7 separate regions of the Homo sapiens genome follow, and regions 1, 2, 3, 5, 6 and 7 are each linked to region 4. The links are contacts of gene promoters, found by promoter capture Hi-C in blood cells and fetal thymus (Javierre and others, 2016). All regions are on one chromosome and are shown on one strand. The core of a region is centred on a gene start or on the middle of the fragment in contact, and the rest is flanking DNA. Distances in the headings are between cores, read along the strand shown.

Region 1 (2,700 bases), core at 77-2,576, 700 kb before region 4:
ATATACACAAAACAGCCAGAACTTAACAATAGTTCCTTCTGTCCTCTGGCCACCAGCAAGGCCAGGGAAATGCTCAAGAAGCGGCAGTTCTGAAGGGTTTTCCCAAAGCAAGCAGCTTTGGAAGTGGCTTTAGGCCACTTGACTCTCTGGCGTTTTCAGTTTGTCCATCTGAAAAATATGAATAAATATTTACCAATCACTTGCCTTACAGGTGAGACAATGTTTATACTGCTCATTGGGATGCTTGGGCAAAAGATGCTGTTTTACACAGGAGGCTCAATGATGGGGGCGGTCCAGAAAGAGGTGGGAGGGTGATTGATAGGAAAACCTCCAGTCTCCACCCACTAGAAGATTCTCACCTCCTTAGTAATGCGCTCCTGGTTCAGGCATGTTTTTTGGCAGAGTTCCTGAGTTGAAAGCACTGTCAGGAATGTGTACAGAAAAACTGCGCCCATGTTATAATCCAGGGCAGAAAAGTAGGAAATGAAAATACTAAAAACATGCCTCTAAGACACGGGTTGGGTGCCGAAGTGAAATCTGACTTTGCAGGAGAGAGTACTTTTCATTCCTAAATTATCTTGCAAGTTTTTTTTCCCTTAGAGGAAATTTCCAAAAGGAATTTTTTTAAGGAAACTTTTTAATTGACTTATCAGATCACATGAGGTATGTTAAAAACCTTTTATTATTAAATAATAAGCCGCCAAGGCAGAAATTAGACCCCCTACTATACACCTAAAACATGTAACACTTATCTTTTAACACTTATCTTTTAACTTGAGCTACCACATCAGTCACCTTGCAGTCTTAATGACAAAGTAATTTTTCACTTCCAAATTATTTTTATGAAACGAGAAACTATAGACCTGTCTCCCTTATGAAGGTTGATGCAAATATTCAAAATAAAATATTAGTGAACTGAGTCCAGTGATATGTAGTGGTATATTGTATTATTTTTCACGAAATAGGTTGGTGCTTCTCCCTCTCAGTGCTCTTTCCTGTGGGAGGATTATACATCCCTGCCTCGTTGAACTTAGGTGTGACTGTGTGGCTTGTGAGTGGAAGTGGCATGCAGGACTTCTGAGTAAAAGTTTTAAGTGCCAGCCCTTGGTTCATGCTGTCCACTTTGCCTTCGTCCCTAAGATTGGTAATGTTCCAGATGGTGGCTACTTCAAGGGCTTGGGGGCTCGGACAGCTGACCCACAGTGGGACACGGAGCATAAGGGAGACATAAACCCTTACAAGCCCCTAAGATGGGGGGCTATTTGTTACCCCAGCTTAACCTAGTGCACCCTGCTGTTAACAGTGACTAATAGAGGTTTATTCCAGGAATGCAAAGGTGGTTCAATATCGGGAAATCCTGGAATTATTTTAACCTAAGACATGGCTTAGATCTAGGACTTAATATTCAATTGGAGAGACACACAAACCATTGATTGCAGAACATGTCCTTGGTGGTTTGACTGAGTCAATATTTATAAAATTATATAAAAGTTATATTTATAAGCATATATTTTATAAATTAAGCTACTTTCTAGGACCACATTGTTAGAAAATTCACTATTCAAAACAAAGTAGAAGAAACAAGAAAGAGTAGACACACTTCTCGCTATTCCTCCACTAAGTGCAGCCTGGACTTCCATAAAACAAACATCAGACTACTGTGAAAGATGAGAAGACCAAATGGCTAGGAACTTCAGTACCCAAGGAATAACACAGCATCGATTTCCCTGGGTTTTCTTTTGCCTAATATTGGGCAAATATGAGGCACTGGAGAAACCAGTACCCCAGAAACACCAATAGGAGCCAACGGCTAAGCAAAGCCTGGTGTCTCTAGCCAAAGGATCAGGACAGGGCAACTTAGAAAGATGGAGAACTCTAAGAAGTAACTGCCCTACTCTATGCAAACACCATGGAAAAACCCATGGCCCCAATCCCACAGCCTCATCAGCAAAAGCCAAGTGGGGAGCCTAGACCTTCTTTGCCTGTTGTAATGAGGCCTCCCCATCCCCTGCTGGAGCAGTGTCAGAGCTAGCCCAGCAGAGAGCTTGGGACATCTATCCCTGCAGGATGGTAATGAGGCCCACCCCCATAGTGTCAGTGGAGGCCATGTTGGGAGCTTAGACTTTTACCCTGACCCAGGAGGAACAACTGCCCCCACTCCCATGGTATCAGTGGGACCCACGTGTTCTAGCGGGAAGCTGCACTTAGCCACCCCTCCCCCTGCCTGTATTCAAAGGGGCTCAGTAGTGAGCCTGAACCATCAACCCCACCACATGCCCCCGTCACCCACTTGGGTGGTGTCAGAGTAGACCTACGAAAACATGATTCAAACAAGGTCCAGCGTCTCAAACCCAAATGGGCAGAATAGAACAGAAAGCCATGCTCTTATGCCAAGAACCAGGCAAATGTCAACCTGAATGAGAACAGAGAGTTAACAGACACCAACACCAAGATAACACAGATTTTAGAATTATCTGACAAGGATTTTGAAGCAGCCATCATTTAAAAAAAAGATTCAGTGAGCAATCATGAACATGCTTGGAATAAATGAAAAAAATAGGAAGTCTTAGAAGATGGCAGAATCAAATGGAAATTTTAGAATTGAGAAGAGTAAATGAAACAAAAATCTCACTGGATGGGTTAAACAGCAGAATGAGGAGTAACGAGAAAACAATCACTGAATTTAAAGATGAAATAAAA
Region 2 (2,700 bases), core at 30-2,529, 740 kb before region 4:
CACTTATTTATTCTATAGCCTGACAGAGTATTTGTGATTGTAAATGTCATCTGTTTGTGTTGGGGAAGAACAAAAAATGAAGGGCTACTCCTGTGTTCAGGGTTTCTAAGAAAAACACAAAGTGTAATATCTGTTGAAAACAAACTTGGATGATGACTTTTAACCTTTAAAATTACCTTCAGCCAAGCACGTCTATCAACTTTACCAGCTGTTTTGAAAATACCTAATACCTGTGCCATGGTTCAGCTGTGAAGAGGACAGAGTTGGTTTGAATAAGAGTAGTTATAGGAAGTTTGTCCTTAAAAGTCCTGAAGATAAGTCTTGATGCTGAGTCATACATATTTACTCCCTCTGTGACTAACTGAATAAACTCAATTCATCAAGGAAATCGTGTCCTTGACTCAGGTCCATTTGTCACAAATCACACCCTCCAACTTTAGGATTACATCAGACTAAAATTATGGACAAAGCAAGTTGCTATGTTAATTCTTTTCTAACACAAGGAGTGGTTTATCATCACATTGCCCACAGTAATATCATTGCAGTTTTATATGTTTAGGGTGATTTCTCCAACTCTTCCTCAAAATTATAGAGTTTTATAAAGCCATTTTCATTTTTGGAGCAAGAAAGAAGTAAGCTTTGTTGTGTATTAGATGCTTACCACTTGCCAAACGTTGTATTATATGGAACATGAGACAAGTAACACACAGTTTCTACTTGCAGGCAAACAGGACAATATAACACATGAAACAGAATGAAAGTTTACTCAGAGTTGAATTTTAAGAATAGTTTTGATTTTTATCAAAGACCATCTTAGTTATTTATATGTGTTGAAGGTTTATAATCTGTAAATCTGAAGTGTTGGAGCTATTGGGTGGGGGAGAAAGAAGACTTAAAAATTCTACTTAGGAAGCTATTTGTAAACTCCCTTTTTTGTTTTTAACTTTTAGGTTGAGGGGTACATGTGCAGGTTTGTTATATAGGTAGATTTTGTGTCACAGGGGTTGGATGTACAGATTATTTTGCCACCTACGTAATAAGCATAGAACCTGATAGGTAGTTTTTCTGTCCTTACCTTCCTCCCTCCCTCCCTCCACCTTTAAGTAGGTCCTGGTGTCTGTTGTGCCTTTCTTTGTGTCTATACATATCCAATGTTTAGCTCCTACTTAGAAGAGAGAACCTGTGGTATTTGGTTTCCTGTTCCTGTGTTAATTCACTTAGGATAATGGCCTCCAGGTCCATCTGTGTTGCTGCAAAGGACATGATCTTGTTCTTTTTTATGGCTACATATTATTCCATGGTGTATATATACCACATTTTCTTTATCCATTCCACCATTGGTGGGCATTTAGGTTGATTCCATGTCTTTGCTATTGTGAATAGTGCAGTGATGAACATACGTGTGCATGTGTCTTTATGGAAGAGCAATTTTTATACCTTTGGGTATATACGCAATAATGAGATTGCTGGGTCAAATGGTAATTCTGCTTTGCGTTCTTTGAGAAATTGCCAAACTGCTTTCCACAATGGCTGAACTAATTTACATTCCTACTAGCAGTATGTAAGTGTTCCCTTTTCTCCGCAACCTTGCCAGCATCTGTTATTTTTTGACTTTTTAATAATAGCCATTTTCACTGCTGTGAGATGGTATCTCATTGTGGTTTTCATTTGCATTTATCTCATGATTAGTGATGTGGAACTTTTTTTCATATGCTTCTTGGCCACTTACATGTCTTCTTTTGAAAAGTGTCTGTTCATGTCCTTTGCCCACTTTTTAATGGGGTTGTTTATTGATTTAAGTTGCTTATAGATTCTGGATATTAGACCGTTGTTGGATGCATAATTTGCACATATTTTCTTCTGTAGGTTGTCTGTTTACTCTGTTGATAGTTTCTTTGCTGCACAGAAGCTCTGAAGCTTAATTAGATCTCACTTGTCAATTTTTGCTTTTGTTACAATTGCCTTTGGCATCTTCATGAAATCTTTGCCGTGTCCTATGTCCAGAATGTATTTCCTAGGTTATCTTCCAGAGTTTTTTTAGTTTTAGGTTTTACATCTAAGTCTTTAGTCCATCTTGAGTTGATTTTTGTATATGGTGTAAGGAAGGAGTCCAGTTTCAATCTTCTGTATATGGCTAGCCCATTATTTCAGCACCATTAATTGAACAGGGAGTCCTTTCCCCATTCTTTGTTTTTGTTAACTTTATCAAAGATTAGATGGTTGTAGGTGTGCGGCATTATTTCTGGGTTCCCTGTTCTGTTCCATTGGTATATGTGTCTGTTTCCTTCTTTCTGTCTCTCTCTCTTTTTTTTTTTTTTTTGGTTTGAGATGGAGCCTCGCTCTGTTGTCAGGCTGGAGTGCAGTGGCGTGATCTTGGCTCACTGCAACCTCTGCCTCCTGGGTTCAAGTGATTCTCCTGCCTCAGCTTCCTGAGTAGCTGGGACTACAGGTGTGCACCACCATGCCCAGCTAATTTTTGTATTTTTAGTAGAGATGGGGTTTCACCATGTTGGCCAGGATGGTCTCCATCTCTTGAACTCGTGATCTGCCCGCCTTGGCCTCCCAAAGTGTTGGGATTACAGGCGTGAGCCACTGTGCCTGGCCTGTTGAGGGTTTTTAATATGAAGGGATGTTGAATTTTATTGAAAGCCTTTGAGTTTGGGGATGATCATGTGGTTTTTGTTTTTATTTCTGTTTATG
Region 3 (2,700 bases), core at 87-2,586, 850 kb before region 4:
AAAAAAGAAAAAGAAAAAAAATATAAAATATATATATGTAAGGAACAGCAGAGGAGGACCCAAGTCTAGCATGTTCTTACAAGGTTAAGAGGAAAAGCCATCAAAAAGGACAGAAGAGATCACTGATGACTGATGGAACTGCTCCTGGACCAGGGTGTATAAGCTTAATATTAATGCAAAGCTTCTATTGTTTCTTTAGAACTTAAAAGATCCTAAGAATTAGAGCAAGCCACAGGGTGAGCCACAGGGGCCTTCAGATAAGGAGGTCAGAGGCACAAGAAAGTGGTTACCAGAAGTCAGCCCCAAGTGGGGCAGGGCTGGTCAAGATAACGTAATAGGGAGACTTACTTTTGGCTGTTTTCCATTCTGTAGCCTGAGTTTTACACTATGAACATGTGTCTACATTATTACAAAATAAATTTTTATAAAATTTACAGAGATCATCATTGACCCTGACAAGACTCATTTCGGTATATAATATGGGAAAAGAAACCAGACTGCAACAGGCTGAGAATGACCCAGGGAAGAGAAAACGGAGAAATTAACTGCAGGTATCTTTTTTGAGAAGCCTGCCTTGCAGGGGATGAGAAAGATAGGATAGTGGAGCCAAGATGGCCGAATAGGAACAGCTCCGGTCTACAGCTCCCAGCGTGAGCAACGCAGAAGACGGGTGATTTCTGCATTTCCATCTGAGGTACCGGGTTCACCTCACTAGGGAGTGCCAGACAGTGGGTGCAGTGCACCGTGTGCAAGCCGAAGCAGGGCGAGGCAGTGCCTCACTCGGGAAGCGCAAGGGGTCAGGGAGTTCCCTTTCCTAGTCAAAGAAAGGGGTGACAGACAGCACCTGGAAAATTGGGTCACTCCCACCCTAATACTGCGCTTTTCCAACAGGCTTAAAAAACAGCACAACAGGAGATTATATTCTGCACATGGCTCGGCGGGTCCTATGCCCACGGAGTCTCGCTGATTGCTAGCACAGCAGTCTGAGATCAAACTGCAAGGTGGCAGCAAGGCTGGGGGAGGGGCGCCTGCCATTGCCCAGGCTTGCTTAGGTAAACAAAGCAGCCGGGAAGCTCGAACTGGGTGGGGCCCACCACAGCTCAAGGAGGCCTGCCTGCCTCTGTAGGCTCCACCTCTGGGGGCAGGGCACAGACAAACAAAAAGACAGCAGTAACCTCTGCAGACTTAAACGTTCCTGTCTGACAGCTTTGAAGAGAGTAGTGGTTCTCCCAGCACGCAGCTGGAGATCTGAGAACAGGCAGACTGCCTCCTCAAGTGGGTCCCTGACCCCCGAGCAGCCTAACTGGGAGGCACCCCCAAGTAGGGGCAGACTGACACCTCACACAGCCAGGTACTCCTCTGAGACAAAACTTCCAGAGGACCGATCAGGCAGCAGCATTTGCGGTTCACGAAAATCCGCTGTTCTACAGCCACCGCTGTACTGCAGCCACCGCTGCTGATACCCAGGCAAACGGTCTGGAGTGGACCTCTAGCAAACTCCAACAGACCTGCAACTGAGGGTCCTGTCTGTTAGAAGGAAAACTAACAAACAGAAAGGACATCCACACCAAAAACCCATCTGTACATCACCATCATCAAAGACCAAAGGTAGATAAAACCACAAAGATGGGGAAAAAACAGAGCAGAAAAACTGGAAACTCTAAAAAGCAGAGCGCCTCTCCTCCTCCAAAGGAATGCAGTTCCTCACCAGCAACGGAACAAAGCTGGACGGAGAATGGCTTTGATGAGTTGAGAGAAGAAGGCTTCAGATGATCAAACTACTCTGAGCTACAGGAGGAAATTCAAACCAATGGCAAAGAAGTTAAAAACTTTGAAAAAAAATTAGATGAATGTATAACTAGAATAACCAATACAGAGAAATGCTTAAAGGAGCTGATGGAGCTGAAAGCCAAGGCTCGAGAACTACGTGAAGAATGCAGAAGCCTCAGGAGCCAATGCGATCAACTGGAAGAAAGGGTATCAGTGACGGAAGATGAAATGAATGAAATGAAGCGAGAAGGGAAGTTTAGAGAAAGAAGAATAAAAAGAAATGAACAAAGTCTCCAAGAAATATGGGACTATGTGAAAAGACCAAATCTACGTCTGATTGGTGTACCTGAAAGTGACGGGGAGAATGGAACGAAGTTAGAAAACACTCTGCAGGATATTATCCAGGAGAACTTCCCCAATCTAGCAAGGCAGGCCAACATTCAGATTCAGGAAATACAGAGAACACCACAAAGATACTCCTCGAGAAAAGCAACTCCAAGACATATAATTGTCAGATTCACCAAAGTTGAAATGAAGGAAAAAATGTTAAGGGCAGCCAGAGAGAAAGGTCGGGTTATCCACAAAGGGAAGCCCATCAGACTAACAGCGGATCTCTCGGCAGAAACTCTACAAGCCAGAAGAGAGTGGGGGCCAATATTCAACATTCTTAAAGAAAAGAATTTTCAACCCAGAATTTCATATCCAGCCAAACTAAGCTTCATAAGTGAAGGAGAAATAAAATACTTTACAGACAAGCAAATGCTGAGAGATTTTGTCACCACCAGGCCTGCCCTAAAAGAGCTCCTGAAGGAAGCACTAAACATGGAAAGGAACAACCGGTACCAGCCACTGCAAAAACATGCCAAATTGTAAAGACCATCAAGGCTAGGAAGAAACTGCATCAACTAACGAGCAAAATAACCAGCTAAC
Region 4 (2,700 bases), core at 16-2,515:
GGGCTGGAAAGGAAAGACAGATCCAGAGAGTGGTGAGCCTTGATGCCAAGTGAGACCTGCAGAACTGTCCTCTCAGGACAACTCTGTACAAATCCCTGAACTCCACAGACTTGACCAAACTCTAGCATAGTTTCTAGCAGCATAAGGCTGTATCCTAGGATGACCTCGGCCCCCCCTTTAAAGTGCCTGCCTGAGAAAGCTCAACGCTGCCTGGAAAATTTCCTATTTATTTTGGCCAACATACCCCGATAGTAGGTCCCGAACTCCCTTAGAGCATTTCCTGGAAAGGGCATATAATTGTAAATACGTATCCCTTGCAACTAACTCGGAAGCTTTTCTTTCAAGGCCCTGAGAGCCATTCCTTCGAAATCTAATCATTAGGAAGGATAGGGCCTTTGTCTCCCAGTCTCTGCGGGAGGATAGAATTCTCCCTAAGACAACTGCGAGCTAGCAGACACAGCCGGCTAATCACATTTGCACTGACTTCACTATACTACACTTCTCTGACTCTACAGAGCCCCTACACTCCCGCCTCGCTCATTCTCCCTTTAAAACGCCCAAAGTCACCTCTGCACAAACCGGGATGGAGCTCAGCTCTTTACCTGCAGTAGTTACTGAATAAAATCTGTTTTCAGCGCTTTACTTACTGGCTGGCTATGATTTATCTTTGACACAAGCTTGGGTTACATTCTGTGTACGAATGGAACAAGCAGAGGAATTTTTTTTTTTTTTTTTTTGCGGTGGAGGGAGCGCAAAAACAGTCGTTCTGTTCTCGCTAATATGGGAATGTCACGAACTACGTCCCCGACATGAGGCCGCGGATCAGAACCGGGGCTGAGGGCGAACTGTGTAAGCTGCGTCTGCTACGCTGCCCGAGGTCCCGTCATCAGCCCCCTCTCCCACGGAGCCCTTCTTTACCTACCCCACGGAGGACTGGGAAAGCCCGGCCGGCTCTGCGGAAGCTTCCGTAGCAGTCGCTCCCAGTAGTTTCGAAGCACTCCCCGGGCCGCAGACCACGGCGAAACCACCAAGACCAGCATGGCCAGCGCCATTTTCCCTGCTGGAAGACCGCCCCGGTCCCGCCCCTGCTTTCAGCATGCGCACAGGCACAGAATCGGGCAAGCCTCGCTTCTTAGAACTACAACACCCCGCATGCTCTTGGAGCAGCTCTGACTCTCCTCCAATCATAGAGAGTAAAGGAAAGGTGAGGGGCGGGGAAATGAAAGGAAATCGGCCACAGTGCGCATGTGTGCGGCTGTGCTTTGGCTCTTCGGGTAAAGATGGCGGAGCGCGGGTACAGCTTTTCGCTGACTACATTCAGGTATGGAAGGGGCCCTCGAGGTCTTCAGCGTAGTCGAGGTTGCTGGTACTCTGTCGATTTAGTTTTTCCCATCCTGACGTCGGCATTGGTGCTTCTGGAGGGTCCAGTAGGGAATGGAGTTGGAAATGCGGCTTTGCAAAGTCATTTGCCAGGCCGACCCGGGATTCCTGGAGCTTCCTTGGTCGGAGGCTGCTGGAGGGTCGGGGGGATGCGGTTTTGCGGGGTTAACATGGGGCTGCGGGACGGTGAGGCACATAGCCAAGGATTCGCTTTCACTTTGGAGACCAGAAAAGAAGGCAGTTTTAGCTTAACCATCTCTGGGTGGCCCGTTCCGAACTCAGGATTTTTTTCCTGGCTCAAGTAGACCTGATGCGGTGGTTTCTGAAACTTGGAATCTTGGTCAAATATGTGGGGTTCCCTTTTCTTGGAAAACTCTCAGCTTTACAGTTAAGTCGGAGTCTTGGTCTCCATTTGGCACTAGTGTCTTTCAAAACCTCCCGCTTTCGGTTTCTTCGATGCACGAATTAGAAACATAAGGACTAAAAACCGAAAGCCCCTATCACTTTTTTGTGAACCCCTAACAACGAGGCAAGTTTGAGTTTTGGTCTTTTTTTGGTGGACTGGGGGGAACGTCGGGGAGGGGGATGTTTACTTTAAACAAGATTGTAGGTTTTTCTATTGTAGAAAAGGGGATTAGAATAATAAGTTTACTTTCCAAAATACAGTTGGGGCGAACCATGGCTCTCAACGTGAGAAAACCATCGCCGAAGACTTTTAAAAATTGACTGGGGAAGTTTTCTGACTTACCCATTTTCTTAAGGATCAGTAATGCCCAGTTTACTTAAAATGTACTCCTGACAACTGAAGGCAGGCGGGATCTAACTTGTTGAGTACTTTGTTAGGTGCAACTTAACCTTAACCTGCTCCATCTCTTTCCACTGCTATAATGAATGTTATCTCAGCTTCTTACAGATGAACTAACCGCAGCTTGTACAAATTAAACAACTTGTCTAAGGTCATCGGTGAGTAGCTGAGTTGACATTCAAACTGGGTTTTTTTTCTGATAACAAAAATACACTTTCCATTACATAACGTTGTCTTAAATTCCAAAAGTACTTTTCTCTTGGCAGTTTTCAGTAAGCAGTGGGTGTATGTAATAGTTTTTTTGTAACCTTTGAACGAGATTAATTTAATTATGCAATAAAAGGTCTCATTATATTACATATGACAGAATAGTGTGTGCAGGATGTATTCACTGTTCCTATTTATGAAGAAAACAAATGTGGTCCTTTTTTTAGGGACAGGGACTTGGCAGCCTCCAGCTCTTGGGCTCAAGGGATCCTCCTGCCTCAGTCTCTGGAGTAGCTGGGACTAGAGGT
Region 5 (2,700 bases), core at 87-2,586, 830 kb before region 4:
TGTCTCAAAAAAAAAAAAAAAAAAAAATTACATATGAAATGTGGGAAAACACACTGAGAATTATTCCTAAAAAAGTTGAAGTATAATTAGAGACCCTATTGTAATTTTTAGCTCTCTGGCTACAGAATTTCCCTTCTGATACTTTGTCTAACATTTGACTTGTTTTTCTGGAATGCATCCCGTTAAGGGAAGGATGAGCATATTTATCAATACAATCTTTTAGGAAATAATTAGGAATATACCAATACCTTTATTTCCATAATTTTAATATCTTCTTGGGAATCGTACTATAGAAATTACATTAATGATGGAAAAACTTTCAGCACAGTATTGCTTCCTTTGTAGGTGGTGATGATGACAGCTAACATTTACTGAATCCTTCCCATGCTGAAAACCCTATTGTAAGCTATTTATGTTCGCTAAGTCACTTATTCTTCAGGGCTATCCTACTAAGTAAGCATTATGATTACCCCCACTTTTACAGGTGAGAAAATCGAGGCAACAAGAGGTTGGTTAACGTGCCCAAGATCAGATCGCACAGCGGTATAATAGGATGGAAAACTCCTATCACATAATGAACGTTAAGTGAAAAAAATTAGTATCCAAAACTGTAAGTCTGATGTCTCATTCTTTTTATAATTTAAGTAGTTTATAAATACCCTCATTATTAGCCATATTTCTGAGCACTTCATATGTAGAGTGCACTTTACAGAACACTGTCATGTAACCCTCACACCGTCTACGAAATAAGTGATAGTTTCCAGTTTCCAAAAACGAAAGCGGGGCTAGGAGAGGCCAAGTGCCTCGCGTGGCGCCTCAGGATTCGCCCCAGCGGAGCAGACCCCAGGGCATCCCAGGCGGGTCCCGGCCGAGCTAGCGGCCCTGCGGTGGCTACGCCCGGGCCCAGCCGCTCGCGCTCCTGGAGCCGCCGGACTACGCGGCACGCGGACGCCGAGCCTGCCCTCTTGGGTCTACATAAAAACCGAAACTACGGGCAGTCTTAACCGAAATGGAGACTTAATTTTTTAGACTGTCTTTTGTGTAGTTGAGAAAGCCCCTTGCCGGGACCCGCGCTGCTGGGCCTCCGACCGCGTCCTCACTCCGGGCCCGGGCGGGGCGGGGCGGGGCAGGCGGCGCCCAGGCTGCGTCCCGGCTCTGGCGGCCGCGGGCCCGGGCCTCCTGCGGGCCTGGGGCTTCGAGCTCAGGCCCTAGCGCTCTATGGAAGCCGCGCGCGACCCCCGCTCCCCTGCGCGCGACCCCCGTTCCCCGCGCGCGCCTCACCTGACGCGGGCACCGCTCTCCGTGCAGCCTCCGGGCGCCACCGGCTTTGCGGACCGGGGCGGGATCCCAGCTCCGATTGGCTGCCCGGCTGGGGGGCGGGGGCCCCGAAGCGGGGTGGCGGAGACCGGGAGGGGACCGGAGGCGGTGGGGAAGGGAGTGGACGGAAGGGGAGGGAGGGTCCCGGCCTCGTGCGGTCGCGCGTGAGATCCTGGCCTCTGTGCCCTGGGTCTGGCGCCTGGGGCCGTAAGAACCGTCCGTGCGCCTGCCCTGTTCTCTGCACCCAGCTTGGTGGCGAGGGGTGGGTGGTGGGTGCCGGCCGACCGGAGGGCGTATGGAAGTGGCTGGGCCCCCTCACGGTGTGCCTGGCCCCCTCACGGTGTGCCTGGCCCCGGCGTGGGGGGGGCAGGCCCGGGGGGTGTCGCATCTCTCTTATCCGCCCCCCACTCACCACGTAGAACCCACTGGATCCCATTGGTATTTAGTGGCCCCGGGCCGACTGAACTGGCGCCGAGGCTTACCTGAGTCCTTCCTGTAAATGTGAGGAGCGGAGGGAATATTCCAGGAGGCCGGTGTCTGCGATGTCCTGCTCTTGGGTAGCTAGGAAGTAGTGAACGTGGTCTAGGGAACTGCCTGGGCTCTTATCCACCTGGGAATGGGTTTGTTGGGGATCCTGATGTGGGAGAAGCCAGGGAGCTTCTAGCCTAGTGGGGCTAGGGGAGAAAACAGGGAGAGGGGTGGATTAGGCTGAAGGAAAGAGATCTCTGATCTTAAAGGCAGCGTTCTGACGGGTAAGGTTGACTGGCATTTTCCCCAACAAAGAGTTCTAGTACCGTATTCCATGACCTGACAAGCCTGTTTAAGTGAGGTTTTGTTGAGTGCAAAGAGAGAAGGCTTGGCTTTGAATTTTTATCTCCAGGCGGGACCTGCCTCCTGAACTCCATACTCCTCTATCCAGCTGCCTCCTTAATACCTCCTCTTGGATCTCTAAAATACATTTCAATCTCAACACATCCAAATCTGTGCCCCTGATCTCTTCCCCATAGCATCACCATCTCGATGGCAACTCCATCTTCCAGTTGTCAAGGCCAGAAACCTTGCTGTTTCAGAAACCTTTCTCTCACATCCCACCTCCAGGGCCCAAAAATTCTGTTGGTTGGATCTCCCTAGCATACCCAGAGCCTGACCACTTCTTACCTCTGCCTCCATCATCTGCTACCTGGGTCATGACAGTGGTCTCTTCCCTGATATCCCTGCAGCCTGTCCCCATAAAGCAGCCAGAGTGACCTTAAAAAAAGAAAGCCAGATCAAATTCCTCCTCTGCCCAAAACCTTCCCAGTGGTTTCCCAAACTCAGAGTAAAACCCAAAGCCCTGCCTGATCTGCTCCTCTGTTACCCCTACAACCTCATCTGCTACTGCCT
Region 6 (2,700 bases), core at 200-2,699, 650 kb before region 4:
AACAAGTGTGTAATACTGGGCAATTTATTAATCCTTTGGAACCTGGGATTCCTCATCTGTAAAATGAGATCAATGGCACTTTACCATACAGGGCAGTGAAGACTATACAAAATTACATCTTTAAAGTGTGTAGCATTCAGCAAATGATCAATAATCAGTGGCTATTTTTATTGTTTTTGGCATTAATTTCAGATCTATGATATAACCAATGATAATAATTTAAAAAAAATATCAGAACAGGAGTTCTGGAGGTGAGCTATTAAGTCTACATAATGTGTAAATTCTCTCAAGAAATCTAGTTAACTTCTTACTTACCTGAAGAGGTGACTATAGCTACTTAGCTTTCTAATGCATTTGGTTCAATAATCATATTTTATAAAATTGTGTCATCTATGGTTTTATGAAAAGATTAAAATTCAAATTCTTACATTCATGTATTTTAAATTAAGATTTTAACATTTGAAGCATGAACTTTTCAAAATTAAACAGCTGACTGACTTAAAGTACCTGCCTAAGAGCAGAAGCCATACTTTCCAAGTAACTTTATTGTTGAACCACAAATATGGCCAATTTTCTTTTATCTATCCAAAGTATCAGATTACCCAAAACTGTTTGTAAATAAAATTCTTCAAACTAATGACTAGCTGTCAAGAAATCTTAAATAACATCTGTGTTAAAACAAAGCAATTTCTGCATGGATATTACTTAATAAAGGTCTTTATTTGTTAAAAAATGATAACTTATGACACACGCTTAAGTTCTTGTCAGATACAAAAACTGAAGCTATTACCTACAGCCATCAATCTAGGTAAGGACACACAGTCCCCAAAATACCCACCCAGAGTCCCCTTTCAGTTTGAATATTCTCTTATTCTCTGATAAAAATCCTCTCTTGTCCCTATTACCCCTGACTGCTCTGAGGAGAATGAGATAGGACATCCCTAATTTACTTTAAGGCCCCAGTGGGAACTTAACTATATGACACTGAAGCTTGGTCATGTTTGTTCCAATGTAGAACTCATTAACAGATCCTTTCCCCTGTCTCTACTAAAAATACAAAAAATTAGCCAGGCATGGTGGCAGGCGCCTATAGTCCCAGCTACTCGGGAGGCTGAGGCAGGAGAATGGCGTGAACCCAGGAGGCGGGTCTTGCGGTGAGCTGAGATCGCGCCACTGCACTCTAGCCTGGGCGACAGAGCGAGACTCCATCTCAAAAAAAAAAAAAAAAAACAAAAAACAATAAAAACATATCATTTCATTAAAATGACAGGAAATTGCTTTAGTCATAAGATACAGACTACAAATTATTCTTTGAAAAACATGTGTGGTGTAATGGGAATGATTTCAAAGTCAGGAGTCCCAGCTCTGTTATCTCTCACAAGACTTTTAAATCTGTCTTTGTTTTCTCATCTGAAAAATGGGGCTTTCCAAACAGGCTTGTGGTGAGAATCAATGAGATAATGCATGTGAAAGCACTTGTAAAACTGTAAGGCCTGCACATTATAAAGTACCTGTTTCAGATGGGAACTTGTATTTGTAACTTTTTTCCTTAGGAAAATCCAACTATTAGCATGTACTAATATTTTTAAAGTGTTCTTTTGGCTTAAAATATTTTTTTCTTAAGAAAAAATTTATCGGTATATTAAAAACATTAAAGTTGAGGACTAGATAATGAAAACAAATGTAAGGCAAATCATTTGCTATGAAACTGGTGTTATCTTTAAGTTCCTTGAAACATCTTTCTGTTTCTATATTATCAATAAACTCAAGGGAAATCAACACGAAAAAATTATCAGAACCCAAGGTCATTTCTCTTGTGTGCCCCAGTAACGAAATCATTAATGTGGTTTACATTGGCATACATCCTGACTCAAAGAAAGGTAACAAGCCTTAACCAGTCAAGCTTCAAGCAATAAAAGAATGTTTTACATCATATATTTACCCTTATTTACGCTGCTATGGACTCTGTTGGAGACATGAAAGAATGCAACATTTCTTAAATGATCAACATCACATCCTGTCATTACTCTGGAATCAATGTTGACCATTTAAAAAATTCTCTTTGAACAGTCATCTCATTGAAAGTTTTAGATCTGTGATAACATAGTAGCACCTGAAAAAGAATGATTTGTTTGAACAGTTAACTCATCACACCCCTTCTGCATTTTACTAAATGAAAGGCCATAGAATAAAATGAAAAAAAAAATCTGTTTTTCTTCCCACATCATTAAACTATTAACACGGGTATTCTCCAAGTTCTTTATCAGCGTGAGATTAATTAGTTATATCAGAAATGCAACCAGAGTTAATTGTTGGAAAAATAGGTTTTCTATCTTATCAAAGATGAAGCAGAGACACACTTAGCTATGTTAAAACCATAAATACAGGCAAAGTTTATAAAACTTAAACAAGGACTGCTTATACACAAACAGAACTTTTCCTTCCTGAGACTTCTGAACAGTTCCTGTGACTTCATTACTTTTGCCAGACATAGAGGCATTTTTTGAGATTGTGCAGGTTTTCTTTTTGGGTTACATTTAAAATAATAACATTTATTGAATTACACCATGAATTACATTTATTGAGTGCTTCCCCTAAGCTAAGCACAGCCTTAAGGCTATGTGTTTTACTTAATTCTCTCACCAACCCTATGAGGCAATAAACGGTTAGGTAATGCACTCAAGTCCACATAACTAGTAA
Region 7 (2,700 bases), core at 35-2,534, 720 kb before region 4:
AAAAGTAAAATAACAAAACACTAGATGTTTCTGTTCATTTTATAAGTAAACAATTATTTGGATTAATTGGTCTCAGTGCATGCTGCTGGTCCTAATATGCCATTATTTTTAAGGAATTTGGATTTTTTTTCAATAAGTTGCAATATGTTTTCAAATAATGTTTTCAGGATGTCTATGTAGATTATAGAATATCTTGAGTTTGTTCCAAATTTATAATGTCTTCCTCTTCACACAGTTTGGTTGGGCCTTTATTCTCAGGAATTTGTAGTTACAGAGAAGAAGCCTAAGGCTACTCCAATATGTCATCCTTTGTTGGTATACCTTTTGGGAAAATGGTATGTAAAATTTTACCAGGAGGTGTTGGTGAACGGAACTGGAACATGTTCTACATTTTTGTCTTTTTTCAAGTTTTCTTTTAGTATCATTTTTGTTTTATCTCATCTTCCATTTACTCTAGTTATTTAACATCAGAAGCAATGATCTGTTGAACAGATCTTAGTTTCTAAATCTCCACTTGCCATTTTCTTGCTCTTCATTTTTATATTCTTGTTCTTTCATTATGCATTTGGATTTTTTTTTCAATAACTTCCTGAATATGACTTCATTATGAATTTGGCTTTCTGCTATGTTAATTCTAGTTTGTGAGTTTCCTTGACATCACTCCTTATTTGAGTTTCTTCCCTTTCCTTCTTTAGCGTGTAGTGTCCTTTGTTCCCATCACGTGTGGTTCTTAACAGGCAGTCTTTCTACAACCAATTAAGTACCCAAAGTGATATTTTTCTCCATATTCTTTTATTTCTTAGAGTGAGTTTGTTATTGCACCGCTGCCAATCCTGCCTCTCCTTACTGCTGGGTTTACTTAGGATTGTAGTCTCTGAATGGATATAGAAACAGAGTGGGGTGGGGAAATGACAATGGCTGTCTCTGGAAGCTGGACTCATACCCAGTTTGGGGCTGGCCAGCCTGTTTCCTGATTGCTACAAACCCAGAAACTTTGAGCTGGGTGTGGAGAGAGGTGAAGGGCCGAACCCTTTCTCCACAGGCTTTCTGGCCATCTCTGCCAGGGTTCATTTGTCCATGGACATGTTTCTCTTTCTCTCTTCACTTACATTGTGGTTAGTGGAAATTTCCTCAGACTTTTGCAACTTGTTATGGTTCCAAGCAGGCCCTACTTTCTGTCTTTTCTTGTGTGTATCTTTATAGGTATTTTAAATGGAATTTCTGAAGTCATATCAGGAAGTGGTAGCTTGATACCCTCTTAAACTAAATGGCATCTTCCGTCATTTTACAGTTTATTAATCTTTAAAAAAAATCATTAATCCTTCCCATTGGCACAGGGACCCTCTCTCCAGGCAGTCTTGGTCTTCATGGGATGAGTAGCAGACATCTCTGATATTAGGTTGGTGCAAAAGTAATTGTGGTTTTCGCCATTACTTTCAGTGGTGAAAACCACAATTACTTTTGTGCCAACCTGTAGAAAGGGTGTTGGACAGCCTTTTATTAACATTCTTAACTCAGCTTAACAAAGGGAGCTTGCCTCGTGATTAAGAATAAAGGGTTACGGTAAGCCTTTCCTCTACAAGCATTCAAGTTATTCCATGATTTCAGAGCCAAAATGTGGTTAAAAAGTCAGCGCTAACATTTGTATACTTAATTTTTAAAATGCTTAATTTCATAGTCTTTTACTTAAAAAAACTTTTATCATGTTTACTCACATGCTTTTATCATTTTGCTTTTTAGTACTATCCTTTTGTCTCCCTTACCTTAAATTTGAGACATTTCATTCTTCAAAAAAGTTTAGCCTTCTTTTGTTTTGTTTTTGCCGTTCATACTTTTTTTTTGTTTGTTTGAGACGGAGTGTCGCTTTGTCGCCCAGGCTGGAGTGCAGTGGCGCAATCTCGGCTCACCGCAAGCTCCACCTCCCGGGTTCACGCCATTCTCCTGCCTCAGCCTCCCGAGTAGCTGGGACTACGGGTGCCCGCCACTATGCCTGGCTAATTTTTTGTATTTTTAGTAGAGACGGGGTTTCACCACGTTAGCCAGGATGGTCTCGATCTCCTGACCTCGTGATCCACCCGCCTCGGCCTCCCAAAGTGCTGGGATTACAGGTGTGAGCCACATACTTCTTTTTCTTAAATGCCAAAGTTTTAATCTTTATTTTTGGCCTTTTGGATTTTGTTTCTTATTCTTTTTCATTTTAATTTATATTGCCTTACTTTTTTCATCTCTATTGTCTTAAGCATAATTCTCTGTACTATCTTTCCACTGTCCCCCCACCCCCTCCCACCCTGACCCTTGACAACGGTTCGATTTTTAAAGGCTGGATGATATGTAATCCCCAGAGTGATAGTAGCAGTGGGCCATGCCCATTCAACAATAGGGAAGAACCATCTCTCCATTTCCTCCCAGTAGTCTCTAAGTGATTTTGTATCTCCTTTTTTTACCTTGTTCCCTTAAATTATAACTTGGGGATATATTGATTAAAACTATTTCCCAGAGTAGCAGTGATTTGCTTCTGGCAGATGGAAATGGCTTTTGGACAGCACATCCTACCTGTGTGAGAAGCTGATTCTTCTGAAATCCATGGTCTTGGCTCAGTGGAGAGACCATGCCCTCTGGAGTCAGACAGATGCATGTAATAGTTCTGATAGGGAATAGCTGCATGACCATAAGCAAGTTTCAGAACCTTTCTTTCTTAAG

What was found. The method cuts DNA at HindIII sites, captures the fragments that hold promoters and counts their contacts. A CHiCAGO score of 5 or more calls a contact.
Region 1: a fragment that was not itself captured here is called in contact with the fragment with the promoter of PSMA2 in region 4 in 1 of 17 cell types (naive CD8 T cells); the score reaches 6.7 in naive CD8 T cells.
Region 2: a fragment that was not itself captured here is called in contact with the fragment with the promoter of PSMA2 in region 4 in 3 of 17 cell types (total CD8 T cells, activated CD4 T cells and naive CD8 T cells); the score reaches 7.9 in total CD8 T cells.
Region 3: a contact is called between a fragment that was not itself captured here and the fragment with the promoter of PSMA2 in region 4, in 1 of 17 cell types (non-activated CD4 T cells). The highest score is 6.2, in non-activated CD4 T cells.
Region 5: a contact is called between the fragment with the promoter of BLVRA here and the fragment with the promoter of PSMA2 in region 4, in 14 of 17 cell types (total CD8 T cells, naive CD4 T cells, naive CD8 T cells and 11 more). The highest score is 18.2, in total CD8 T cells.
Region 6: a contact is called between a fragment that was not itself captured here and the fragment with the promoter of PSMA2 in region 4, in 8 of 17 cell types (total CD8 T cells, naive CD8 T cells, naive B cells and 5 more). The highest score is 15.1, in total CD8 T cells.
Region 7: a contact is called between a fragment that was not itself captured here and the fragment with the promoter of PSMA2 in region 4, in 3 of 17 cell types (total CD8 T cells, total CD4 T cells and naive CD4 T cells). The highest score is 6.5, in total CD8 T cells.

What each region holds. Positions count from the first base shown.
Region 1 is chr7:43,633,932-43,636,631 of GRCh38, reverse strand. It overlaps a transcript of COA1 not described here. Among named protein-coding and RNA genes, the nearest start is that of STK17A, 52 kb to the right of the region's middle. RefSeq lists a silencer at 168-462. The HindIII fragment of the contact is 7,284 bases long and covers 1-2,700 here.
Region 2 is chr7:43,672,394-43,675,093 of GRCh38, reverse strand. The region is part of intron 1 of COA1 (cytochrome c oxidase assembly factor 1); the gene reads left to right. Among named protein-coding and RNA genes, the nearest start is that of COA1, 56 kb to the left of the region's middle. RefSeq lists a cis regulatory region at 326-336 and an enhancer at 259-403. The HindIII fragment of the contact is 1,280 bases long and covers 640-1,919 here.
Region 3 is chr7:43,777,190-43,779,889 of GRCh38, reverse strand. All of the region lies in intron 2 of BLVRA (biliverdin reductase A), which reads right to left. Among named protein-coding and RNA genes, the nearest start is that of BLVRA, 20 kb to the right of the region's middle. The HindIII fragment of the contact is 2,305 bases long and covers 184-2,488 here.
Region 4 is chr7:42,930,739-42,933,438 of GRCh38, reverse strand. It overlaps PSMA2 (proteasome 20S subunit alpha 2), which reads left to right and starts at 1,265. Exons shown (of 8, transcript NM_002787.5): 1 at 1,265-1,321. The coding sequence starts at 1,281. It overlaps MRPL32 (mitochondrial ribosomal protein L32), which reads right to left and starts at 1,063. Exons shown (of 3, transcript NM_031903.3): 1 at 923-1,063. The coding sequence starts at 1,052. RefSeq lists an enhancer at 885-1,114. The HindIII fragment of the contact is 5,414 bases long and covers 965-2,700 here.
Region 5 is chr7:43,757,316-43,760,015 of GRCh38, reverse strand. BLVRA (biliverdin reductase A) reads right to left here and starts at 1,336. Exons shown (of 8, transcript NM_000712.4): 1 at 1,282-1,336. It also overlaps the pseudogene LOC107986727. RefSeq lists silencers at 912-1,231, 1,242-1,631 and a cis regulatory region at 2,653-2,700. The HindIII fragment of the contact is 5,653 bases long and covers 1-2,700 here.
Region 6 is chr7:43,585,685-43,588,384 of GRCh38, reverse strand. All of the region lies in intron 1 of STK17A (serine/threonine kinase 17a), which reads right to left. Among named protein-coding and RNA genes, the nearest start is that of STK17A, 3.9 kb to the right of the region's middle. RefSeq lists an enhancer at 1,400-1,459. The HindIII fragment of the contact is 913 bases long and covers 993-1,905 here.
Region 7 is chr7:43,652,461-43,655,160 of GRCh38, reverse strand. The region is part of intron 1 of COA1 (cytochrome c oxidase assembly factor 1); the gene reads left to right. Among named protein-coding and RNA genes, the nearest start is that of STK17A, 71 kb to the right of the region's middle. RefSeq lists an enhancer at 2,579-2,700. The HindIII fragment of the contact is 6,624 bases long and covers 1-2,700 here.